Linked DNA regions of Homo sapiens: region 2 is linked to region 1. The links are contacts of gene promoters, found by promoter capture Hi-C in blood cells and fetal thymus (Javierre and others, 2016). All regions are on one chromosome and are shown on one strand. Each heading gives the region's core, a stretch centred on a gene start or on the middle of the fragment in contact. The rest is flanking DNA. Distances are from core to core; before and after follow the strand shown. Region 1 holds the start of SPI1 (Spi-1 proto-oncogene). Region 2 holds the start of ATG13 (autophagy related 13).

What was found. Contacts are between HindIII fragments. The CHiCAGO score rates a contact against its expected background, and 5 or more counts as called.
Region 2: a contact is called between the fragment with the promoter of ATG13 here and the fragment with the promoter of SPI1 in region 1, in 1 of 17 cell types (neutrophils). The highest score is 7.6, in neutrophils.

The regions. Positions count from the first base shown.
Region 1 is chr11:47,377,104-47,379,803 of GRCh38, forward strand. SPI1 (Spi-1 proto-oncogene) reads right to left here and starts at 1,444. Exons shown (of 5, transcript NM_003120.3): 1 at 1,206-1,444. The coding sequence starts at 1,250. RefSeq lists enhancers at 1-197, 868-917, 1,091-2,042, 1,538-1,607. The HindIII fragment of the contact is 19,336 bases long and covers 1-2,700 here.
Region 2 is chr11:46,616,107-46,618,806 of GRCh38, forward strand. It overlaps ATG13 (autophagy related 13), which reads left to right and starts at 1,447. Exons shown (of 19, transcript NM_001346311.2): 1 at 1,447-1,784. It overlaps HARBI1 (harbinger transposase derived 1), which reads right to left and starts at 1,121. Exons shown (of 3, transcript NM_173811.4): 1 at 1,018-1,121; 2 at 1-275. The coding sequence starts at 131. RefSeq lists an enhancer at 1,254-1,433 and a silencer at 1,413-1,707. The HindIII fragment of the contact is 4,045 bases long and covers 1,307-2,700 here.

The sequences.
Region 1 (2,700 bases), core at 194-2,693:
GGTCCTGCCTGGTCCTGCCTGTGGCTGGCCAAGTGAGGAGGCCAGGAGCCCAGCACTGAGCCTGCCCCTCTGGGTTTCCAGGTAGTACAGCCTCGCTGCAGGATGTCAGCCCGGCTCTGGTCGGGTTGGTGTGATGTCAGGCCTGGGGTGCCTCCCAGCCTCCTGGGGTGGCTCTGAGCCAGGGCATAGTGGGGGAAGGGAGCTGCCTCTAGACCAGGAAAGTGGATTCAGGTGGGCAGCCTGCCAAGCCCTTCCCGGCTCCCCTCAAGCCTCCTCACTCCTGAGAGGTCATGGGGTGGGAAAAGGGAGAAGGGTCCTTTCCGAGGGACCCTGGTCTGACACCTGCCTAAGGCTGCAACTGTCACTGAGAGTGAGGAGCAGTGGCGATCTGCCCTTCTCTTCTCGGGGTCCCCTGGGGCTCCCACTTCTTCACCCCCAAGACCCAGTCCCTGTCCTTGTCCCAGCCTCAGCCCCCATTCTCACTTATCACATGCTCACCCCAGGTCCCACCCAGCCCCAATCTCAGTCCTGGCCTTGTCCCAGCCCTGTCCCCTGCCGCGCCTCTCCCTGAACTCCAGCCCTGGGGCCAGCCCTAACTGCACTGTCTCAGCTCCACTCCTGGCTCCTTTCCAGCACCAGTCCCTGTCTCCTGTGGGTACCCCTGTGGGCCCATGGCCCTGACCCTTTGGTCAACAATCATGTCCTCTGTGCCAGGCCCCAGACTGGGCGTTGGGGACCCAGAGTTCCATCAGCTTTGGTTTCCAGGAGCCCCAAGGCCATGGGCCAAGACTTCTGCCCATTGCCTCCTGCCTTCAACCCCTTCCCATCCAGGGGACCGGCCTCCCCCAAGCCAGTCCCCCCATCTCCCTCCTCTACCTCTCTACCACCGCCTTCACCATCCTCAGCCCAGCACCCTCCCCAGGAGCCCCGGCCTCCGCCTGCCACCCGAGCCCTGTCTATAAATAACTGTTCAGGCCCCACCGATCACAGCCCCACCGTGGGCCTGGCCTCAGCCCGCCAGGGCATGCTCCGAGGAAGCCAATGGCCCCCTCGCTGGGTCTCAGGCCAGGAGTTCCAGGGAGGAAACCCTGACTTCCCACTGATAGCAAGCCAGGAGGGCAGTGGGTGGGCTGGCGGGTTCGTGGGCAGGCAGGCAGGCGTCCGAGGGCCACGGGTTGGGCTGGTGGAGGAGTCCCGGTACTCACAGGGGGGACGAGGGGAAACCCTTCCATTTTGCACGCCTGTAACATCCAGCCGGGCTCCGAGTCGGTCAGATCCCCTGCCTCGGTGGGGGCCAATGCAGAGCCCCTCAGGATGGGGTGCCCCGTCAGGGGCTGGACGGTCGTGGGGCGGGTGCAGGGCTCAGGCCTGCCCCCTGAGCTACAGGAGCCCTGGGTGAGCCCCCTCCCTTGACATTGCAGGGCCAGCACAAGTTCCTGATTTTATCGAAGGGCCTGCCGCTGGGAGATAGTCCCCTTGGGGTGACATCACCGCCCCAACCCGTTTGCATAAATCTCTTGCGCTACATACAGGAAGTCTCTGGCCGGCTGGGGCAGGTGGTGCTCAAAGGGCTGGCCTGGGAAGCCATGGGGTCCAGGCCCCCTGCCCAGAGGAAGCTGGGACTGAGAGGGATGACTTTGGGGGCTAAGCTGGGGAGGGAGGATGGGAGGGAGAACGTGTAGCTCTGCCACACCACTGGGAGGCTTTTGCTCTAACCCAACAAATGCCTGCTTCTTTTGAGATCCCTATGTAGCCAACAGTCACCTCATTGGGGTCAGAGCTGGAAGGGGTGGCCTCTTGGGGCCTCCACTTTCTGGAGTCAGCCTTCCTGGGTGAGGGCTCTGATCTAGCAGGCTATCAGGCCTGGCTCTTCCTGTGGCCCTGCACCCCCACTGCCTAGGCTATCCCTAGGCTGAGGCTGGGCTCAGGTGTAGGGTCTTCAGCATAGTGCTGCTTTCTTCCTTCCCTCTGAATCTGTTCACATGGGCTTCCCTACCACCAGAAGAGGGTCCTGGGTTCTTATACCCTCCCCTCCCAGCTTCTTGATTACCACATTCAAATCCCTAGGGCTCTGTTTCCAGCCCAGGTTTCTCAGTTTCCCCATCCCTTGGCAATGCCTGAATATCAATCTAACCCTCCTGGTTTACAAACCTTTCTTGCCTATCCACCATTCATCTGTTTTCCCATGCATCTATTTGTCTGTCTATTTGTCCATCCAGCTATCCATTCATCAAGCCCACCATGCATTCACTTATGTGTCCATTTATCCAACTGTCCGTTTGTTTGTTCATTCATCTGTCAGTCAATTCATCCACCCACCCATCTGTTTATCTACTTGTCTATCTAACCATCTATATGTCCATTAATCAGCCCGTCCACCTGCTATCAGTCCATCAGTCCACAATTCCATCTGTTTATCCATCTATGAATCTGCTCATCCATTCATCCACCTGTCCATCCATCCACCCATCCACTCATCCACCCATCTACCCATCCACTCATCTGTCCATCAACCCATCCATCATCCACCTACCCCTTCATTCATTCATCCATCCATCCACCAGTCCACTCATCCACCCATCTACCAATCCACCCACCTACCATTCCACCCATCTATTCATCCACCTATCCATCCATTCACCTATCAGCTTCGGTTTCCAGGAGCCCCATGAGAACAGGCAGTATTTGACTTTCTGTTTC
Region 2 (2,700 bases), core at 197-2,696, 760 kb before region 1:
TGCCGTGGAAACCCATACATGGACATCAAGTATTCATCAGTCACATCATCCAGCTTAAAACGGTCCAATGTCCGGTGACCACGGCCATATAGCAAGAGGTCACAGTCAAGCACTGTTATTGGTATAGCCATGGTAAATGTGAATGTTGGCTCTCCTCTTTGCTTTTTCTGAACTGTTCCCAATGAAGATGTTGGTGCAAGAACGTATTTTTAAGAAAGTATCAGAATCCAACAGCTAACCACAGTTAAATGGCTCTGCCATTTATAATCTTCTCTCTGTAAATGTTAAAAGAAAAAACATTAGGAACCTACCAAAGACTTTAAAGTGACTCAAAGGCTGGAGCAGCTCCTTTTCTACAAATTTCCATTTTGTTGAGGCAAAACGTACTGTACTTACAACTCCGGATTTTTCTCCACTAACTCATGGCTGCACGACAGGCTTGCTCTGATTCAAGGATAATGGGAATTCAATCTTTGTGGCTCATTTAATGCTTGGCATTTCAATTGAGAACACCAAAAGAATAATGGAGGTGATGACATAATTATTCACAAGGTAAAAGAGGTCGGCTTCTAACTATATAGGCCAAGAAGCAGCTGACATATGTCATAACCACCTTGGGTAAGAATTGGTCACGGGTTTCATTATCCAAAGACTTCTGGTTTCACCTGACAAATACAGGACAGATGCTGGGGTGTTCAAACCAGTCTAACAAGAAAAGAAGGGGCAAAAAAAAAAAAAAAAAAAAAAAAAAAAAAACAACCAAAGTCCACAACCCAGCCTTATGGACGTACACTGTGTGCTGTAACAAAAGGCTTTTCCCTCACTCCAAGAACTCCAAATCGTGAACCTGAGGGCCAGGAAGTACGGAAGACCAGACACATTGGAAGTCGGGAGCGAAAAAGAGGCTGGCCGAACCAGGTTTGGGAAGCGACTCTGCCACTTTTAAAGGGCACCCTAAAAACGGATGTCAAAGTCTGATTGCGCCGGCCACTCAGTTAGCCCAGGCCCGTCACCCACCTCTCCGCGGCTGCCAGGTTACCAGCCACACTTCCCACCCACCCAGCCGGGTTGGGCCCTCCTCCGGAACCGGCGACTGCACAGAGGCCGCCACGGCGCGCAACAGCGGCACCGCCCCTTCCGCGTCAGCGCCCGCCCCGCGCCGCGCCCTCACTGCCGCTGCCGCGGCTACCTGCGGTTCATCTCCGCACATTCCACACGCGGCCCAAACGGTCTCTCTCTCTCTCTCTCAAACACCGCCTTTCCGTCTTTGTTTTATCTTGAGTAGCTTAGAAAGATTGGAGAAGAAAGCTTACGTGGAATGAAAATCAACTTTTATGGATATTTTGAGGACTAAAAGAATAAATAGGGCGTCCGTACTGTAGCGAAAGTGCGACTAAGGTTAGGCATCTGGATTTCCCCCGTAGCCCTCTTTCACCCCCCCCCCCCGGCCATTACCGAAGCGGATGAAAACAAACACTAACGATGGCGGCGCCGGGAAGCGACCGGCTGCTGGGCTTAAGGCGGGAGTGACCGCTTAACCAGTGAGGGAAGCACTGAAGAGCGCCAGTCGACGTGGGTGCGACAACTCGCGGAGTCTTAGGAGCAAAACGTCTGGGGCCTGCGAGCCAGGACCCTTCTGAAGCCTTAGGTGTCTATCGGCGACGTGTACGGTCACTGCAGCTCCGGAGCGCGGAACCCTCAGCCAGGAGGCGCGGCTGGTCGGTCCCAGGTCCCGGCCTCCGTAATGAGAGCCCGGAACCACTCTTTGTGCCGCAGCTTCGCAGGTACTAACTTTTGCGGGGGATACCCCAAGATCTCTCAGCGCCCCCGGGTGGGAGGCTGTGGATCTGCGGCCCCTTGGCTGCTGCTTCGTGGAAGTAGAAGGGATTAGCCACGGTTCAATCCCCTGGGCCCCTGAGTTTTCTGTGGGAAGTTGAGTTGGTCTAGGCCCCGTTGGCCCCTGCTTGTTTGGCAGAGAATCCCCTCCACCCCAGAGCTTTCCTCTCCACTTTTTCAGCTCCTTGGGTTAGGTCGTCAGGCGTTTTGGAGGTAATTTGGGGGGCCATAACTCCGGGGTTGGGTGCCAATATGAGTGAGGTAGGTTTTCATTCAATCAAGATTTGCTGAGTGCCAAATATGTACTCCGCGTGTAGGTGAGGGTGACTGTTGACTAGTGAAAAAAGGGACCCATGGTTCACGACTGTCTTCTTACTGGCAGTGGAACGACCTGTGGAAACCTGTGATCCATTCTCATTAAATAAATCTCTGGGTAAGTGGCTAAGCACCTTCTTGAGCTCATCACTAATTCTTCCCAGTTTTCACTTTTCCAGTGAGTTCCCAGTTAGCCTGGTCAATTCAGCGTAGCATTTCACTTTTGGTATTTCTTCGTTCTCTGGCCACCCCGCAGCCAAAAAGAAAAAAGAGATTTTAAAAAATTACCTATTTTCTCATTACACTTAGTTTAAAACTCATCTCCTAAGGTGATAGAATTTATTGGACACCTTTAGTGGGAGATGTATTATAATAAGAAACAACAAGCTCTTCCTTTACACTAAATTAGCTTCCAGATTTTGTGTGTTGTTTTATGACTGTTAGTCCTTTTCATGTGTGCATGTAGTGGCTCCAGCTCAATTATGAGGTTTTTTTTTTGTTGTTTTCAACTCTCCATTTATCAGCTCAGGAGAAGTCTTTTAGTTTTTT